Regions from separate parts of the Homo sapiens genome. Here all the other regions are linked to region 7. Evidence: promoter capture Hi-C in 16 types of primary human blood cells and fetal thymus (Javierre and others, 2016). All regions are on one chromosome and are shown on one strand. Each heading gives the region's core, a stretch centred on a gene start or on the middle of the fragment in contact. The rest is flanking DNA. Distances are from core to core; before and after follow the strand shown. Region 1 overlaps STK17A (serine/threonine kinase 17a). Region 2 overlaps COA1 (cytochrome c oxidase assembly factor 1). Region 3 overlaps COA1 (cytochrome c oxidase assembly factor 1). Region 4 has its middle 52 kb from the start of STK17A. Region 5 holds the start of BLVRA (biliverdin reductase A). Region 6 overlaps BLVRA (biliverdin reductase A). Region 7 holds the start of PSMA2 (proteasome 20S subunit alpha 2).

Region 1 (2,700 bases), core at 156-2,655, 650 kb before region 7:
GGGATTCCTCATCTGTAAAATGAGATCAATGGCACTTTACCATACAGGGCAGTGAAGACTATACAAAATTACATCTTTAAAGTGTGTAGCATTCAGCAAATGATCAATAATCAGTGGCTATTTTTATTGTTTTTGGCATTAATTTCAGATCTATGATATAACCAATGATAATAATTTAAAAAAAATATCAGAACAGGAGTTCTGGAGGTGAGCTATTAAGTCTACATAATGTGTAAATTCTCTCAAGAAATCTAGTTAACTTCTTACTTACCTGAAGAGGTGACTATAGCTACTTAGCTTTCTAATGCATTTGGTTCAATAATCATATTTTATAAAATTGTGTCATCTATGGTTTTATGAAAAGATTAAAATTCAAATTCTTACATTCATGTATTTTAAATTAAGATTTTAACATTTGAAGCATGAACTTTTCAAAATTAAACAGCTGACTGACTTAAAGTACCTGCCTAAGAGCAGAAGCCATACTTTCCAAGTAACTTTATTGTTGAACCACAAATATGGCCAATTTTCTTTTATCTATCCAAAGTATCAGATTACCCAAAACTGTTTGTAAATAAAATTCTTCAAACTAATGACTAGCTGTCAAGAAATCTTAAATAACATCTGTGTTAAAACAAAGCAATTTCTGCATGGATATTACTTAATAAAGGTCTTTATTTGTTAAAAAATGATAACTTATGACACACGCTTAAGTTCTTGTCAGATACAAAAACTGAAGCTATTACCTACAGCCATCAATCTAGGTAAGGACACACAGTCCCCAAAATACCCACCCAGAGTCCCCTTTCAGTTTGAATATTCTCTTATTCTCTGATAAAAATCCTCTCTTGTCCCTATTACCCCTGACTGCTCTGAGGAGAATGAGATAGGACATCCCTAATTTACTTTAAGGCCCCAGTGGGAACTTAACTATATGACACTGAAGCTTGGTCATGTTTGTTCCAATGTAGAACTCATTAACAGATCCTTTCCCCTGTCTCTACTAAAAATACAAAAAATTAGCCAGGCATGGTGGCAGGCGCCTATAGTCCCAGCTACTCGGGAGGCTGAGGCAGGAGAATGGCGTGAACCCAGGAGGCGGGTCTTGCGGTGAGCTGAGATCGCGCCACTGCACTCTAGCCTGGGCGACAGAGCGAGACTCCATCTCAAAAAAAAAAAAAAAAAACAAAAAACAATAAAAACATATCATTTCATTAAAATGACAGGAAATTGCTTTAGTCATAAGATACAGACTACAAATTATTCTTTGAAAAACATGTGTGGTGTAATGGGAATGATTTCAAAGTCAGGAGTCCCAGCTCTGTTATCTCTCACAAGACTTTTAAATCTGTCTTTGTTTTCTCATCTGAAAAATGGGGCTTTCCAAACAGGCTTGTGGTGAGAATCAATGAGATAATGCATGTGAAAGCACTTGTAAAACTGTAAGGCCTGCACATTATAAAGTACCTGTTTCAGATGGGAACTTGTATTTGTAACTTTTTTCCTTAGGAAAATCCAACTATTAGCATGTACTAATATTTTTAAAGTGTTCTTTTGGCTTAAAATATTTTTTTCTTAAGAAAAAATTTATCGGTATATTAAAAACATTAAAGTTGAGGACTAGATAATGAAAACAAATGTAAGGCAAATCATTTGCTATGAAACTGGTGTTATCTTTAAGTTCCTTGAAACATCTTTCTGTTTCTATATTATCAATAAACTCAAGGGAAATCAACACGAAAAAATTATCAGAACCCAAGGTCATTTCTCTTGTGTGCCCCAGTAACGAAATCATTAATGTGGTTTACATTGGCATACATCCTGACTCAAAGAAAGGTAACAAGCCTTAACCAGTCAAGCTTCAAGCAATAAAAGAATGTTTTACATCATATATTTACCCTTATTTACGCTGCTATGGACTCTGTTGGAGACATGAAAGAATGCAACATTTCTTAAATGATCAACATCACATCCTGTCATTACTCTGGAATCAATGTTGACCATTTAAAAAATTCTCTTTGAACAGTCATCTCATTGAAAGTTTTAGATCTGTGATAACATAGTAGCACCTGAAAAAGAATGATTTGTTTGAACAGTTAACTCATCACACCCCTTCTGCATTTTACTAAATGAAAGGCCATAGAATAAAATGAAAAAAAAAATCTGTTTTTCTTCCCACATCATTAAACTATTAACACGGGTATTCTCCAAGTTCTTTATCAGCGTGAGATTAATTAGTTATATCAGAAATGCAACCAGAGTTAATTGTTGGAAAAATAGGTTTTCTATCTTATCAAAGATGAAGCAGAGACACACTTAGCTATGTTAAAACCATAAATACAGGCAAAGTTTATAAAACTTAAACAAGGACTGCTTATACACAAACAGAACTTTTCCTTCCTGAGACTTCTGAACAGTTCCTGTGACTTCATTACTTTTGCCAGACATAGAGGCATTTTTTGAGATTGTGCAGGTTTTCTTTTTGGGTTACATTTAAAATAATAACATTTATTGAATTACACCATGAATTACATTTATTGAGTGCTTCCCCTAAGCTAAGCACAGCCTTAAGGCTATGTGTTTTACTTAATTCTCTCACCAACCCTATGAGGCAATAAACGGTTAGGTAATGCACTCAAGTCCACATAACTAGTAAGAGCCAAGATTCAATCTCACACTGTCTGACTCCAAAGCCAATGT
Region 2 (2,700 bases), core at 38-2,537, 740 kb before region 7:
AGTGAGTGCACTTATTTATTCTATAGCCTGACAGAGTATTTGTGATTGTAAATGTCATCTGTTTGTGTTGGGGAAGAACAAAAAATGAAGGGCTACTCCTGTGTTCAGGGTTTCTAAGAAAAACACAAAGTGTAATATCTGTTGAAAACAAACTTGGATGATGACTTTTAACCTTTAAAATTACCTTCAGCCAAGCACGTCTATCAACTTTACCAGCTGTTTTGAAAATACCTAATACCTGTGCCATGGTTCAGCTGTGAAGAGGACAGAGTTGGTTTGAATAAGAGTAGTTATAGGAAGTTTGTCCTTAAAAGTCCTGAAGATAAGTCTTGATGCTGAGTCATACATATTTACTCCCTCTGTGACTAACTGAATAAACTCAATTCATCAAGGAAATCGTGTCCTTGACTCAGGTCCATTTGTCACAAATCACACCCTCCAACTTTAGGATTACATCAGACTAAAATTATGGACAAAGCAAGTTGCTATGTTAATTCTTTTCTAACACAAGGAGTGGTTTATCATCACATTGCCCACAGTAATATCATTGCAGTTTTATATGTTTAGGGTGATTTCTCCAACTCTTCCTCAAAATTATAGAGTTTTATAAAGCCATTTTCATTTTTGGAGCAAGAAAGAAGTAAGCTTTGTTGTGTATTAGATGCTTACCACTTGCCAAACGTTGTATTATATGGAACATGAGACAAGTAACACACAGTTTCTACTTGCAGGCAAACAGGACAATATAACACATGAAACAGAATGAAAGTTTACTCAGAGTTGAATTTTAAGAATAGTTTTGATTTTTATCAAAGACCATCTTAGTTATTTATATGTGTTGAAGGTTTATAATCTGTAAATCTGAAGTGTTGGAGCTATTGGGTGGGGGAGAAAGAAGACTTAAAAATTCTACTTAGGAAGCTATTTGTAAACTCCCTTTTTTGTTTTTAACTTTTAGGTTGAGGGGTACATGTGCAGGTTTGTTATATAGGTAGATTTTGTGTCACAGGGGTTGGATGTACAGATTATTTTGCCACCTACGTAATAAGCATAGAACCTGATAGGTAGTTTTTCTGTCCTTACCTTCCTCCCTCCCTCCCTCCACCTTTAAGTAGGTCCTGGTGTCTGTTGTGCCTTTCTTTGTGTCTATACATATCCAATGTTTAGCTCCTACTTAGAAGAGAGAACCTGTGGTATTTGGTTTCCTGTTCCTGTGTTAATTCACTTAGGATAATGGCCTCCAGGTCCATCTGTGTTGCTGCAAAGGACATGATCTTGTTCTTTTTTATGGCTACATATTATTCCATGGTGTATATATACCACATTTTCTTTATCCATTCCACCATTGGTGGGCATTTAGGTTGATTCCATGTCTTTGCTATTGTGAATAGTGCAGTGATGAACATACGTGTGCATGTGTCTTTATGGAAGAGCAATTTTTATACCTTTGGGTATATACGCAATAATGAGATTGCTGGGTCAAATGGTAATTCTGCTTTGCGTTCTTTGAGAAATTGCCAAACTGCTTTCCACAATGGCTGAACTAATTTACATTCCTACTAGCAGTATGTAAGTGTTCCCTTTTCTCCGCAACCTTGCCAGCATCTGTTATTTTTTGACTTTTTAATAATAGCCATTTTCACTGCTGTGAGATGGTATCTCATTGTGGTTTTCATTTGCATTTATCTCATGATTAGTGATGTGGAACTTTTTTTCATATGCTTCTTGGCCACTTACATGTCTTCTTTTGAAAAGTGTCTGTTCATGTCCTTTGCCCACTTTTTAATGGGGTTGTTTATTGATTTAAGTTGCTTATAGATTCTGGATATTAGACCGTTGTTGGATGCATAATTTGCACATATTTTCTTCTGTAGGTTGTCTGTTTACTCTGTTGATAGTTTCTTTGCTGCACAGAAGCTCTGAAGCTTAATTAGATCTCACTTGTCAATTTTTGCTTTTGTTACAATTGCCTTTGGCATCTTCATGAAATCTTTGCCGTGTCCTATGTCCAGAATGTATTTCCTAGGTTATCTTCCAGAGTTTTTTTAGTTTTAGGTTTTACATCTAAGTCTTTAGTCCATCTTGAGTTGATTTTTGTATATGGTGTAAGGAAGGAGTCCAGTTTCAATCTTCTGTATATGGCTAGCCCATTATTTCAGCACCATTAATTGAACAGGGAGTCCTTTCCCCATTCTTTGTTTTTGTTAACTTTATCAAAGATTAGATGGTTGTAGGTGTGCGGCATTATTTCTGGGTTCCCTGTTCTGTTCCATTGGTATATGTGTCTGTTTCCTTCTTTCTGTCTCTCTCTCTTTTTTTTTTTTTTTTGGTTTGAGATGGAGCCTCGCTCTGTTGTCAGGCTGGAGTGCAGTGGCGTGATCTTGGCTCACTGCAACCTCTGCCTCCTGGGTTCAAGTGATTCTCCTGCCTCAGCTTCCTGAGTAGCTGGGACTACAGGTGTGCACCACCATGCCCAGCTAATTTTTGTATTTTTAGTAGAGATGGGGTTTCACCATGTTGGCCAGGATGGTCTCCATCTCTTGAACTCGTGATCTGCCCGCCTTGGCCTCCCAAAGTGTTGGGATTACAGGCGTGAGCCACTGTGCCTGGCCTGTTGAGGGTTTTTAATATGAAGGGATGTTGAATTTTATTGAAAGCCTTTGAGTTTGGGGATGATCATGTGGTTTTTGTTTTTATTTC
Region 3 (2,700 bases), core at 87-2,586, 720 kb before region 7:
TGGGCACCATAGTGAGATTCCATCTAAAATACTAAAAATAATTAAAATAATAAAAAGTAAAATAACAAAACACTAGATGTTTCTGTTCATTTTATAAGTAAACAATTATTTGGATTAATTGGTCTCAGTGCATGCTGCTGGTCCTAATATGCCATTATTTTTAAGGAATTTGGATTTTTTTTCAATAAGTTGCAATATGTTTTCAAATAATGTTTTCAGGATGTCTATGTAGATTATAGAATATCTTGAGTTTGTTCCAAATTTATAATGTCTTCCTCTTCACACAGTTTGGTTGGGCCTTTATTCTCAGGAATTTGTAGTTACAGAGAAGAAGCCTAAGGCTACTCCAATATGTCATCCTTTGTTGGTATACCTTTTGGGAAAATGGTATGTAAAATTTTACCAGGAGGTGTTGGTGAACGGAACTGGAACATGTTCTACATTTTTGTCTTTTTTCAAGTTTTCTTTTAGTATCATTTTTGTTTTATCTCATCTTCCATTTACTCTAGTTATTTAACATCAGAAGCAATGATCTGTTGAACAGATCTTAGTTTCTAAATCTCCACTTGCCATTTTCTTGCTCTTCATTTTTATATTCTTGTTCTTTCATTATGCATTTGGATTTTTTTTTCAATAACTTCCTGAATATGACTTCATTATGAATTTGGCTTTCTGCTATGTTAATTCTAGTTTGTGAGTTTCCTTGACATCACTCCTTATTTGAGTTTCTTCCCTTTCCTTCTTTAGCGTGTAGTGTCCTTTGTTCCCATCACGTGTGGTTCTTAACAGGCAGTCTTTCTACAACCAATTAAGTACCCAAAGTGATATTTTTCTCCATATTCTTTTATTTCTTAGAGTGAGTTTGTTATTGCACCGCTGCCAATCCTGCCTCTCCTTACTGCTGGGTTTACTTAGGATTGTAGTCTCTGAATGGATATAGAAACAGAGTGGGGTGGGGAAATGACAATGGCTGTCTCTGGAAGCTGGACTCATACCCAGTTTGGGGCTGGCCAGCCTGTTTCCTGATTGCTACAAACCCAGAAACTTTGAGCTGGGTGTGGAGAGAGGTGAAGGGCCGAACCCTTTCTCCACAGGCTTTCTGGCCATCTCTGCCAGGGTTCATTTGTCCATGGACATGTTTCTCTTTCTCTCTTCACTTACATTGTGGTTAGTGGAAATTTCCTCAGACTTTTGCAACTTGTTATGGTTCCAAGCAGGCCCTACTTTCTGTCTTTTCTTGTGTGTATCTTTATAGGTATTTTAAATGGAATTTCTGAAGTCATATCAGGAAGTGGTAGCTTGATACCCTCTTAAACTAAATGGCATCTTCCGTCATTTTACAGTTTATTAATCTTTAAAAAAAATCATTAATCCTTCCCATTGGCACAGGGACCCTCTCTCCAGGCAGTCTTGGTCTTCATGGGATGAGTAGCAGACATCTCTGATATTAGGTTGGTGCAAAAGTAATTGTGGTTTTCGCCATTACTTTCAGTGGTGAAAACCACAATTACTTTTGTGCCAACCTGTAGAAAGGGTGTTGGACAGCCTTTTATTAACATTCTTAACTCAGCTTAACAAAGGGAGCTTGCCTCGTGATTAAGAATAAAGGGTTACGGTAAGCCTTTCCTCTACAAGCATTCAAGTTATTCCATGATTTCAGAGCCAAAATGTGGTTAAAAAGTCAGCGCTAACATTTGTATACTTAATTTTTAAAATGCTTAATTTCATAGTCTTTTACTTAAAAAAACTTTTATCATGTTTACTCACATGCTTTTATCATTTTGCTTTTTAGTACTATCCTTTTGTCTCCCTTACCTTAAATTTGAGACATTTCATTCTTCAAAAAAGTTTAGCCTTCTTTTGTTTTGTTTTTGCCGTTCATACTTTTTTTTTGTTTGTTTGAGACGGAGTGTCGCTTTGTCGCCCAGGCTGGAGTGCAGTGGCGCAATCTCGGCTCACCGCAAGCTCCACCTCCCGGGTTCACGCCATTCTCCTGCCTCAGCCTCCCGAGTAGCTGGGACTACGGGTGCCCGCCACTATGCCTGGCTAATTTTTTGTATTTTTAGTAGAGACGGGGTTTCACCACGTTAGCCAGGATGGTCTCGATCTCCTGACCTCGTGATCCACCCGCCTCGGCCTCCCAAAGTGCTGGGATTACAGGTGTGAGCCACATACTTCTTTTTCTTAAATGCCAAAGTTTTAATCTTTATTTTTGGCCTTTTGGATTTTGTTTCTTATTCTTTTTCATTTTAATTTATATTGCCTTACTTTTTTCATCTCTATTGTCTTAAGCATAATTCTCTGTACTATCTTTCCACTGTCCCCCCACCCCCTCCCACCCTGACCCTTGACAACGGTTCGATTTTTAAAGGCTGGATGATATGTAATCCCCAGAGTGATAGTAGCAGTGGGCCATGCCCATTCAACAATAGGGAAGAACCATCTCTCCATTTCCTCCCAGTAGTCTCTAAGTGATTTTGTATCTCCTTTTTTTACCTTGTTCCCTTAAATTATAACTTGGGGATATATTGATTAAAACTATTTCCCAGAGTAGCAGTGATTTGCTTCTGGCAGATGGAAATGGCTTTTGGACAGCACATCCTACCTGTGTGAGAAGCTGATTCTTCTGAAATCCATGGTCTTGGCTCAGTGGAGAGACCATGCCCTCTGGAGTCAGACAGATGCATGTAATAGTTCTGA
Region 4 (2,700 bases), core at 57-2,556, 700 kb before region 7:
ACTTAACAATAGTTCCTTCTGTCCTCTGGCCACCAGCAAGGCCAGGGAAATGCTCAAGAAGCGGCAGTTCTGAAGGGTTTTCCCAAAGCAAGCAGCTTTGGAAGTGGCTTTAGGCCACTTGACTCTCTGGCGTTTTCAGTTTGTCCATCTGAAAAATATGAATAAATATTTACCAATCACTTGCCTTACAGGTGAGACAATGTTTATACTGCTCATTGGGATGCTTGGGCAAAAGATGCTGTTTTACACAGGAGGCTCAATGATGGGGGCGGTCCAGAAAGAGGTGGGAGGGTGATTGATAGGAAAACCTCCAGTCTCCACCCACTAGAAGATTCTCACCTCCTTAGTAATGCGCTCCTGGTTCAGGCATGTTTTTTGGCAGAGTTCCTGAGTTGAAAGCACTGTCAGGAATGTGTACAGAAAAACTGCGCCCATGTTATAATCCAGGGCAGAAAAGTAGGAAATGAAAATACTAAAAACATGCCTCTAAGACACGGGTTGGGTGCCGAAGTGAAATCTGACTTTGCAGGAGAGAGTACTTTTCATTCCTAAATTATCTTGCAAGTTTTTTTTCCCTTAGAGGAAATTTCCAAAAGGAATTTTTTTAAGGAAACTTTTTAATTGACTTATCAGATCACATGAGGTATGTTAAAAACCTTTTATTATTAAATAATAAGCCGCCAAGGCAGAAATTAGACCCCCTACTATACACCTAAAACATGTAACACTTATCTTTTAACACTTATCTTTTAACTTGAGCTACCACATCAGTCACCTTGCAGTCTTAATGACAAAGTAATTTTTCACTTCCAAATTATTTTTATGAAACGAGAAACTATAGACCTGTCTCCCTTATGAAGGTTGATGCAAATATTCAAAATAAAATATTAGTGAACTGAGTCCAGTGATATGTAGTGGTATATTGTATTATTTTTCACGAAATAGGTTGGTGCTTCTCCCTCTCAGTGCTCTTTCCTGTGGGAGGATTATACATCCCTGCCTCGTTGAACTTAGGTGTGACTGTGTGGCTTGTGAGTGGAAGTGGCATGCAGGACTTCTGAGTAAAAGTTTTAAGTGCCAGCCCTTGGTTCATGCTGTCCACTTTGCCTTCGTCCCTAAGATTGGTAATGTTCCAGATGGTGGCTACTTCAAGGGCTTGGGGGCTCGGACAGCTGACCCACAGTGGGACACGGAGCATAAGGGAGACATAAACCCTTACAAGCCCCTAAGATGGGGGGCTATTTGTTACCCCAGCTTAACCTAGTGCACCCTGCTGTTAACAGTGACTAATAGAGGTTTATTCCAGGAATGCAAAGGTGGTTCAATATCGGGAAATCCTGGAATTATTTTAACCTAAGACATGGCTTAGATCTAGGACTTAATATTCAATTGGAGAGACACACAAACCATTGATTGCAGAACATGTCCTTGGTGGTTTGACTGAGTCAATATTTATAAAATTATATAAAAGTTATATTTATAAGCATATATTTTATAAATTAAGCTACTTTCTAGGACCACATTGTTAGAAAATTCACTATTCAAAACAAAGTAGAAGAAACAAGAAAGAGTAGACACACTTCTCGCTATTCCTCCACTAAGTGCAGCCTGGACTTCCATAAAACAAACATCAGACTACTGTGAAAGATGAGAAGACCAAATGGCTAGGAACTTCAGTACCCAAGGAATAACACAGCATCGATTTCCCTGGGTTTTCTTTTGCCTAATATTGGGCAAATATGAGGCACTGGAGAAACCAGTACCCCAGAAACACCAATAGGAGCCAACGGCTAAGCAAAGCCTGGTGTCTCTAGCCAAAGGATCAGGACAGGGCAACTTAGAAAGATGGAGAACTCTAAGAAGTAACTGCCCTACTCTATGCAAACACCATGGAAAAACCCATGGCCCCAATCCCACAGCCTCATCAGCAAAAGCCAAGTGGGGAGCCTAGACCTTCTTTGCCTGTTGTAATGAGGCCTCCCCATCCCCTGCTGGAGCAGTGTCAGAGCTAGCCCAGCAGAGAGCTTGGGACATCTATCCCTGCAGGATGGTAATGAGGCCCACCCCCATAGTGTCAGTGGAGGCCATGTTGGGAGCTTAGACTTTTACCCTGACCCAGGAGGAACAACTGCCCCCACTCCCATGGTATCAGTGGGACCCACGTGTTCTAGCGGGAAGCTGCACTTAGCCACCCCTCCCCCTGCCTGTATTCAAAGGGGCTCAGTAGTGAGCCTGAACCATCAACCCCACCACATGCCCCCGTCACCCACTTGGGTGGTGTCAGAGTAGACCTACGAAAACATGATTCAAACAAGGTCCAGCGTCTCAAACCCAAATGGGCAGAATAGAACAGAAAGCCATGCTCTTATGCCAAGAACCAGGCAAATGTCAACCTGAATGAGAACAGAGAGTTAACAGACACCAACACCAAGATAACACAGATTTTAGAATTATCTGACAAGGATTTTGAAGCAGCCATCATTTAAAAAAAAGATTCAGTGAGCAATCATGAACATGCTTGGAATAAATGAAAAAAATAGGAAGTCTTAGAAGATGGCAGAATCAAATGGAAATTTTAGAATTGAGAAGAGTAAATGAAACAAAAATCTCACTGGATGGGTTAAACAGCAGAATGAGGAGTAACGAGAAAACAATCACTGAATTTAAAGATGAAATAAAAATCTGAGCGGAGAAAACAGA
Region 5 (2,700 bases), core at 191-2,690, 830 kb before region 7:
GTGGATCACCTGAGGTCAGAAGAATTGCTTGAACCCAGCAGGTGGAAGTTGCAGTGAGCCGAGATCGCGCCACTGTACTCCAGCCTGGTGACAGGGCGAGGCTCTGTCTCAAAAAAAAAAAAAAAAAAAAATTACATATGAAATGTGGGAAAACACACTGAGAATTATTCCTAAAAAAGTTGAAGTATAATTAGAGACCCTATTGTAATTTTTAGCTCTCTGGCTACAGAATTTCCCTTCTGATACTTTGTCTAACATTTGACTTGTTTTTCTGGAATGCATCCCGTTAAGGGAAGGATGAGCATATTTATCAATACAATCTTTTAGGAAATAATTAGGAATATACCAATACCTTTATTTCCATAATTTTAATATCTTCTTGGGAATCGTACTATAGAAATTACATTAATGATGGAAAAACTTTCAGCACAGTATTGCTTCCTTTGTAGGTGGTGATGATGACAGCTAACATTTACTGAATCCTTCCCATGCTGAAAACCCTATTGTAAGCTATTTATGTTCGCTAAGTCACTTATTCTTCAGGGCTATCCTACTAAGTAAGCATTATGATTACCCCCACTTTTACAGGTGAGAAAATCGAGGCAACAAGAGGTTGGTTAACGTGCCCAAGATCAGATCGCACAGCGGTATAATAGGATGGAAAACTCCTATCACATAATGAACGTTAAGTGAAAAAAATTAGTATCCAAAACTGTAAGTCTGATGTCTCATTCTTTTTATAATTTAAGTAGTTTATAAATACCCTCATTATTAGCCATATTTCTGAGCACTTCATATGTAGAGTGCACTTTACAGAACACTGTCATGTAACCCTCACACCGTCTACGAAATAAGTGATAGTTTCCAGTTTCCAAAAACGAAAGCGGGGCTAGGAGAGGCCAAGTGCCTCGCGTGGCGCCTCAGGATTCGCCCCAGCGGAGCAGACCCCAGGGCATCCCAGGCGGGTCCCGGCCGAGCTAGCGGCCCTGCGGTGGCTACGCCCGGGCCCAGCCGCTCGCGCTCCTGGAGCCGCCGGACTACGCGGCACGCGGACGCCGAGCCTGCCCTCTTGGGTCTACATAAAAACCGAAACTACGGGCAGTCTTAACCGAAATGGAGACTTAATTTTTTAGACTGTCTTTTGTGTAGTTGAGAAAGCCCCTTGCCGGGACCCGCGCTGCTGGGCCTCCGACCGCGTCCTCACTCCGGGCCCGGGCGGGGCGGGGCGGGGCAGGCGGCGCCCAGGCTGCGTCCCGGCTCTGGCGGCCGCGGGCCCGGGCCTCCTGCGGGCCTGGGGCTTCGAGCTCAGGCCCTAGCGCTCTATGGAAGCCGCGCGCGACCCCCGCTCCCCTGCGCGCGACCCCCGTTCCCCGCGCGCGCCTCACCTGACGCGGGCACCGCTCTCCGTGCAGCCTCCGGGCGCCACCGGCTTTGCGGACCGGGGCGGGATCCCAGCTCCGATTGGCTGCCCGGCTGGGGGGCGGGGGCCCCGAAGCGGGGTGGCGGAGACCGGGAGGGGACCGGAGGCGGTGGGGAAGGGAGTGGACGGAAGGGGAGGGAGGGTCCCGGCCTCGTGCGGTCGCGCGTGAGATCCTGGCCTCTGTGCCCTGGGTCTGGCGCCTGGGGCCGTAAGAACCGTCCGTGCGCCTGCCCTGTTCTCTGCACCCAGCTTGGTGGCGAGGGGTGGGTGGTGGGTGCCGGCCGACCGGAGGGCGTATGGAAGTGGCTGGGCCCCCTCACGGTGTGCCTGGCCCCCTCACGGTGTGCCTGGCCCCGGCGTGGGGGGGGCAGGCCCGGGGGGTGTCGCATCTCTCTTATCCGCCCCCCACTCACCACGTAGAACCCACTGGATCCCATTGGTATTTAGTGGCCCCGGGCCGACTGAACTGGCGCCGAGGCTTACCTGAGTCCTTCCTGTAAATGTGAGGAGCGGAGGGAATATTCCAGGAGGCCGGTGTCTGCGATGTCCTGCTCTTGGGTAGCTAGGAAGTAGTGAACGTGGTCTAGGGAACTGCCTGGGCTCTTATCCACCTGGGAATGGGTTTGTTGGGGATCCTGATGTGGGAGAAGCCAGGGAGCTTCTAGCCTAGTGGGGCTAGGGGAGAAAACAGGGAGAGGGGTGGATTAGGCTGAAGGAAAGAGATCTCTGATCTTAAAGGCAGCGTTCTGACGGGTAAGGTTGACTGGCATTTTCCCCAACAAAGAGTTCTAGTACCGTATTCCATGACCTGACAAGCCTGTTTAAGTGAGGTTTTGTTGAGTGCAAAGAGAGAAGGCTTGGCTTTGAATTTTTATCTCCAGGCGGGACCTGCCTCCTGAACTCCATACTCCTCTATCCAGCTGCCTCCTTAATACCTCCTCTTGGATCTCTAAAATACATTTCAATCTCAACACATCCAAATCTGTGCCCCTGATCTCTTCCCCATAGCATCACCATCTCGATGGCAACTCCATCTTCCAGTTGTCAAGGCCAGAAACCTTGCTGTTTCAGAAACCTTTCTCTCACATCCCACCTCCAGGGCCCAAAAATTCTGTTGGTTGGATCTCCCTAGCATACCCAGAGCCTGACCACTTCTTACCTCTGCCTCCATCATCTGCTACCTGGGTCATGACAGTGGTCTCTTCCCTGATATCCCTGCAGCCTGTCCCCATAAAGCAGCCAGAGTGACCTTAAAAAAAGAAAGCCAGATCAAATTCCTC
Region 6 (2,700 bases), core at 80-2,579, 850 kb before region 7:
AAAAAGAAAAAAAATATAAAATATATATATGTAAGGAACAGCAGAGGAGGACCCAAGTCTAGCATGTTCTTACAAGGTTAAGAGGAAAAGCCATCAAAAAGGACAGAAGAGATCACTGATGACTGATGGAACTGCTCCTGGACCAGGGTGTATAAGCTTAATATTAATGCAAAGCTTCTATTGTTTCTTTAGAACTTAAAAGATCCTAAGAATTAGAGCAAGCCACAGGGTGAGCCACAGGGGCCTTCAGATAAGGAGGTCAGAGGCACAAGAAAGTGGTTACCAGAAGTCAGCCCCAAGTGGGGCAGGGCTGGTCAAGATAACGTAATAGGGAGACTTACTTTTGGCTGTTTTCCATTCTGTAGCCTGAGTTTTACACTATGAACATGTGTCTACATTATTACAAAATAAATTTTTATAAAATTTACAGAGATCATCATTGACCCTGACAAGACTCATTTCGGTATATAATATGGGAAAAGAAACCAGACTGCAACAGGCTGAGAATGACCCAGGGAAGAGAAAACGGAGAAATTAACTGCAGGTATCTTTTTTGAGAAGCCTGCCTTGCAGGGGATGAGAAAGATAGGATAGTGGAGCCAAGATGGCCGAATAGGAACAGCTCCGGTCTACAGCTCCCAGCGTGAGCAACGCAGAAGACGGGTGATTTCTGCATTTCCATCTGAGGTACCGGGTTCACCTCACTAGGGAGTGCCAGACAGTGGGTGCAGTGCACCGTGTGCAAGCCGAAGCAGGGCGAGGCAGTGCCTCACTCGGGAAGCGCAAGGGGTCAGGGAGTTCCCTTTCCTAGTCAAAGAAAGGGGTGACAGACAGCACCTGGAAAATTGGGTCACTCCCACCCTAATACTGCGCTTTTCCAACAGGCTTAAAAAACAGCACAACAGGAGATTATATTCTGCACATGGCTCGGCGGGTCCTATGCCCACGGAGTCTCGCTGATTGCTAGCACAGCAGTCTGAGATCAAACTGCAAGGTGGCAGCAAGGCTGGGGGAGGGGCGCCTGCCATTGCCCAGGCTTGCTTAGGTAAACAAAGCAGCCGGGAAGCTCGAACTGGGTGGGGCCCACCACAGCTCAAGGAGGCCTGCCTGCCTCTGTAGGCTCCACCTCTGGGGGCAGGGCACAGACAAACAAAAAGACAGCAGTAACCTCTGCAGACTTAAACGTTCCTGTCTGACAGCTTTGAAGAGAGTAGTGGTTCTCCCAGCACGCAGCTGGAGATCTGAGAACAGGCAGACTGCCTCCTCAAGTGGGTCCCTGACCCCCGAGCAGCCTAACTGGGAGGCACCCCCAAGTAGGGGCAGACTGACACCTCACACAGCCAGGTACTCCTCTGAGACAAAACTTCCAGAGGACCGATCAGGCAGCAGCATTTGCGGTTCACGAAAATCCGCTGTTCTACAGCCACCGCTGTACTGCAGCCACCGCTGCTGATACCCAGGCAAACGGTCTGGAGTGGACCTCTAGCAAACTCCAACAGACCTGCAACTGAGGGTCCTGTCTGTTAGAAGGAAAACTAACAAACAGAAAGGACATCCACACCAAAAACCCATCTGTACATCACCATCATCAAAGACCAAAGGTAGATAAAACCACAAAGATGGGGAAAAAACAGAGCAGAAAAACTGGAAACTCTAAAAAGCAGAGCGCCTCTCCTCCTCCAAAGGAATGCAGTTCCTCACCAGCAACGGAACAAAGCTGGACGGAGAATGGCTTTGATGAGTTGAGAGAAGAAGGCTTCAGATGATCAAACTACTCTGAGCTACAGGAGGAAATTCAAACCAATGGCAAAGAAGTTAAAAACTTTGAAAAAAAATTAGATGAATGTATAACTAGAATAACCAATACAGAGAAATGCTTAAAGGAGCTGATGGAGCTGAAAGCCAAGGCTCGAGAACTACGTGAAGAATGCAGAAGCCTCAGGAGCCAATGCGATCAACTGGAAGAAAGGGTATCAGTGACGGAAGATGAAATGAATGAAATGAAGCGAGAAGGGAAGTTTAGAGAAAGAAGAATAAAAAGAAATGAACAAAGTCTCCAAGAAATATGGGACTATGTGAAAAGACCAAATCTACGTCTGATTGGTGTACCTGAAAGTGACGGGGAGAATGGAACGAAGTTAGAAAACACTCTGCAGGATATTATCCAGGAGAACTTCCCCAATCTAGCAAGGCAGGCCAACATTCAGATTCAGGAAATACAGAGAACACCACAAAGATACTCCTCGAGAAAAGCAACTCCAAGACATATAATTGTCAGATTCACCAAAGTTGAAATGAAGGAAAAAATGTTAAGGGCAGCCAGAGAGAAAGGTCGGGTTATCCACAAAGGGAAGCCCATCAGACTAACAGCGGATCTCTCGGCAGAAACTCTACAAGCCAGAAGAGAGTGGGGGCCAATATTCAACATTCTTAAAGAAAAGAATTTTCAACCCAGAATTTCATATCCAGCCAAACTAAGCTTCATAAGTGAAGGAGAAATAAAATACTTTACAGACAAGCAAATGCTGAGAGATTTTGTCACCACCAGGCCTGCCCTAAAAGAGCTCCTGAAGGAAGCACTAAACATGGAAAGGAACAACCGGTACCAGCCACTGCAAAAACATGCCAAATTGTAAAGACCATCAAGGCTAGGAAGAAACTGCATCAACTAACGAGCAAAATAACCAGCTAACATCATAA
Region 7 (2,700 bases), core at 185-2,684:
AAAATTAATTCCAAGTGAAACATGGGAAACAGAATTCAGCTCCTCAGAGCTCAAACACCACAGAAAACATGTACTGCGCGGGAGGGAGGGAGGAAGGGAGGAAAGAAGGGAGGGAAGGGAAGGGAAGAGGAGAGGGGGGAGAGGGGAAGCGGGAGGGGAGGTGAGGGCAGGGCTGGAAAGGAAAGACAGATCCAGAGAGTGGTGAGCCTTGATGCCAAGTGAGACCTGCAGAACTGTCCTCTCAGGACAACTCTGTACAAATCCCTGAACTCCACAGACTTGACCAAACTCTAGCATAGTTTCTAGCAGCATAAGGCTGTATCCTAGGATGACCTCGGCCCCCCCTTTAAAGTGCCTGCCTGAGAAAGCTCAACGCTGCCTGGAAAATTTCCTATTTATTTTGGCCAACATACCCCGATAGTAGGTCCCGAACTCCCTTAGAGCATTTCCTGGAAAGGGCATATAATTGTAAATACGTATCCCTTGCAACTAACTCGGAAGCTTTTCTTTCAAGGCCCTGAGAGCCATTCCTTCGAAATCTAATCATTAGGAAGGATAGGGCCTTTGTCTCCCAGTCTCTGCGGGAGGATAGAATTCTCCCTAAGACAACTGCGAGCTAGCAGACACAGCCGGCTAATCACATTTGCACTGACTTCACTATACTACACTTCTCTGACTCTACAGAGCCCCTACACTCCCGCCTCGCTCATTCTCCCTTTAAAACGCCCAAAGTCACCTCTGCACAAACCGGGATGGAGCTCAGCTCTTTACCTGCAGTAGTTACTGAATAAAATCTGTTTTCAGCGCTTTACTTACTGGCTGGCTATGATTTATCTTTGACACAAGCTTGGGTTACATTCTGTGTACGAATGGAACAAGCAGAGGAATTTTTTTTTTTTTTTTTTTGCGGTGGAGGGAGCGCAAAAACAGTCGTTCTGTTCTCGCTAATATGGGAATGTCACGAACTACGTCCCCGACATGAGGCCGCGGATCAGAACCGGGGCTGAGGGCGAACTGTGTAAGCTGCGTCTGCTACGCTGCCCGAGGTCCCGTCATCAGCCCCCTCTCCCACGGAGCCCTTCTTTACCTACCCCACGGAGGACTGGGAAAGCCCGGCCGGCTCTGCGGAAGCTTCCGTAGCAGTCGCTCCCAGTAGTTTCGAAGCACTCCCCGGGCCGCAGACCACGGCGAAACCACCAAGACCAGCATGGCCAGCGCCATTTTCCCTGCTGGAAGACCGCCCCGGTCCCGCCCCTGCTTTCAGCATGCGCACAGGCACAGAATCGGGCAAGCCTCGCTTCTTAGAACTACAACACCCCGCATGCTCTTGGAGCAGCTCTGACTCTCCTCCAATCATAGAGAGTAAAGGAAAGGTGAGGGGCGGGGAAATGAAAGGAAATCGGCCACAGTGCGCATGTGTGCGGCTGTGCTTTGGCTCTTCGGGTAAAGATGGCGGAGCGCGGGTACAGCTTTTCGCTGACTACATTCAGGTATGGAAGGGGCCCTCGAGGTCTTCAGCGTAGTCGAGGTTGCTGGTACTCTGTCGATTTAGTTTTTCCCATCCTGACGTCGGCATTGGTGCTTCTGGAGGGTCCAGTAGGGAATGGAGTTGGAAATGCGGCTTTGCAAAGTCATTTGCCAGGCCGACCCGGGATTCCTGGAGCTTCCTTGGTCGGAGGCTGCTGGAGGGTCGGGGGGATGCGGTTTTGCGGGGTTAACATGGGGCTGCGGGACGGTGAGGCACATAGCCAAGGATTCGCTTTCACTTTGGAGACCAGAAAAGAAGGCAGTTTTAGCTTAACCATCTCTGGGTGGCCCGTTCCGAACTCAGGATTTTTTTCCTGGCTCAAGTAGACCTGATGCGGTGGTTTCTGAAACTTGGAATCTTGGTCAAATATGTGGGGTTCCCTTTTCTTGGAAAACTCTCAGCTTTACAGTTAAGTCGGAGTCTTGGTCTCCATTTGGCACTAGTGTCTTTCAAAACCTCCCGCTTTCGGTTTCTTCGATGCACGAATTAGAAACATAAGGACTAAAAACCGAAAGCCCCTATCACTTTTTTGTGAACCCCTAACAACGAGGCAAGTTTGAGTTTTGGTCTTTTTTTGGTGGACTGGGGGGAACGTCGGGGAGGGGGATGTTTACTTTAAACAAGATTGTAGGTTTTTCTATTGTAGAAAAGGGGATTAGAATAATAAGTTTACTTTCCAAAATACAGTTGGGGCGAACCATGGCTCTCAACGTGAGAAAACCATCGCCGAAGACTTTTAAAAATTGACTGGGGAAGTTTTCTGACTTACCCATTTTCTTAAGGATCAGTAATGCCCAGTTTACTTAAAATGTACTCCTGACAACTGAAGGCAGGCGGGATCTAACTTGTTGAGTACTTTGTTAGGTGCAACTTAACCTTAACCTGCTCCATCTCTTTCCACTGCTATAATGAATGTTATCTCAGCTTCTTACAGATGAACTAACCGCAGCTTGTACAAATTAAACAACTTGTCTAAGGTCATCGGTGAGTAGCTGAGTTGACATTCAAACTGGGTTTTTTTTCTGATAACAAAAATACACTTTCCATTACATAACGTTGTCTTAAATTCCAAAAGTACTTTTCTCTTGGCAGTTTTCAGTAAGCAGTGGGTGTATGTAATAGTTTTTTTGTAACCTTTGAACGAGATTAATTTAATTATGCAATAAAAGGTC

The links. Contacts are between HindIII fragments. The CHiCAGO score rates a contact against its expected background, and 5 or more counts as called.
Region 1: a contact is called between a fragment that was not itself captured here and the fragment with the promoter of PSMA2 in region 7, in 8 of 17 cell types (total CD8 T cells, naive CD8 T cells, naive B cells and 5 more). The highest score is 15.1, in total CD8 T cells.
Region 2: a contact is called between a fragment that was not itself captured here and the fragment with the promoter of PSMA2 in region 7, in 3 of 17 cell types (total CD8 T cells, activated CD4 T cells and naive CD8 T cells). The highest score is 7.9, in total CD8 T cells.
Region 3: a contact is called between a fragment that was not itself captured here and the fragment with the promoter of PSMA2 in region 7, in 3 of 17 cell types (total CD8 T cells, total CD4 T cells and naive CD4 T cells). The highest score is 6.5, in total CD8 T cells.
Region 4: a fragment that was not itself captured here is called in contact with the fragment with the promoter of PSMA2 in region 7 in 1 of 17 cell types (naive CD8 T cells); the score reaches 6.7 in naive CD8 T cells.
Region 5: the fragment with the promoter of BLVRA here is called in contact with the fragment with the promoter of PSMA2 in region 7 in 14 of 17 cell types (total CD8 T cells, naive CD4 T cells, naive CD8 T cells and 11 more); the score reaches 18.2 in total CD8 T cells.
Region 6: a contact is called between a fragment that was not itself captured here and the fragment with the promoter of PSMA2 in region 7, in 1 of 17 cell types (non-activated CD4 T cells). The highest score is 6.2, in non-activated CD4 T cells.

Annotation. Positions count from the first base shown.
Region 1 is chr7:43,585,641-43,588,340 of GRCh38, reverse strand. All of the region lies in intron 1 of STK17A (serine/threonine kinase 17a), which reads right to left. Among named protein-coding and RNA genes, the nearest start is that of STK17A, 3.9 kb to the right of the region's middle. RefSeq lists an enhancer at 1,356-1,415. The HindIII fragment of the contact is 913 bases long and covers 949-1,861 here.
Region 2 is chr7:43,672,402-43,675,101 of GRCh38, reverse strand. All of the region lies in intron 1 of COA1 (cytochrome c oxidase assembly factor 1), which reads left to right. Among named protein-coding and RNA genes, the nearest start is that of COA1, 56 kb to the left of the region's middle. RefSeq lists a cis regulatory region at 334-344 and an enhancer at 267-411. The HindIII fragment of the contact is 1,280 bases long and covers 648-1,927 here.
Region 3 is chr7:43,652,513-43,655,212 of GRCh38, reverse strand. The region is part of intron 1 of COA1 (cytochrome c oxidase assembly factor 1); the gene reads left to right. Among named protein-coding and RNA genes, the nearest start is that of STK17A, 71 kb to the right of the region's middle. RefSeq lists an enhancer at 2,631-2,700. The HindIII fragment of the contact is 6,624 bases long and covers 1-2,700 here.
Region 4 is chr7:43,633,912-43,636,611 of GRCh38, reverse strand. It overlaps a transcript of COA1 not described here. Among named protein-coding and RNA genes, the nearest start is that of STK17A, 52 kb to the right of the region's middle. RefSeq lists a silencer at 148-442. The HindIII fragment of the contact is 7,284 bases long and covers 1-2,700 here.
Region 5 is chr7:43,757,420-43,760,119 of GRCh38, reverse strand. BLVRA (biliverdin reductase A) reads right to left here and starts at 1,440. Exons shown (of 8, transcript NM_000712.4): 1 at 1,386-1,440. It also overlaps the pseudogene LOC107986727. RefSeq lists silencers at 1,016-1,335, 1,346-1,735. The HindIII fragment of the contact is 5,653 bases long and covers 1-2,700 here.
Region 6 is chr7:43,777,183-43,779,882 of GRCh38, reverse strand. The region is part of intron 2 of BLVRA (biliverdin reductase A); the gene reads right to left. Among named protein-coding and RNA genes, the nearest start is that of BLVRA, 20 kb to the right of the region's middle. The HindIII fragment of the contact is 2,305 bases long and covers 177-2,481 here.
Region 7 is chr7:42,930,908-42,933,607 of GRCh38, reverse strand. PSMA2 (proteasome 20S subunit alpha 2) reads left to right here and starts at 1,434. Exons shown (of 8, transcript NM_002787.5): 1 at 1,434-1,490. The coding sequence starts at 1,450. MRPL32 (mitochondrial ribosomal protein L32) reads right to left here and starts at 1,232. Exons shown (of 3, transcript NM_031903.3): 1 at 1,092-1,232. The coding sequence starts at 1,221. RefSeq lists an enhancer at 1,054-1,283. The HindIII fragment of the contact is 5,414 bases long and covers 1,134-2,700 here.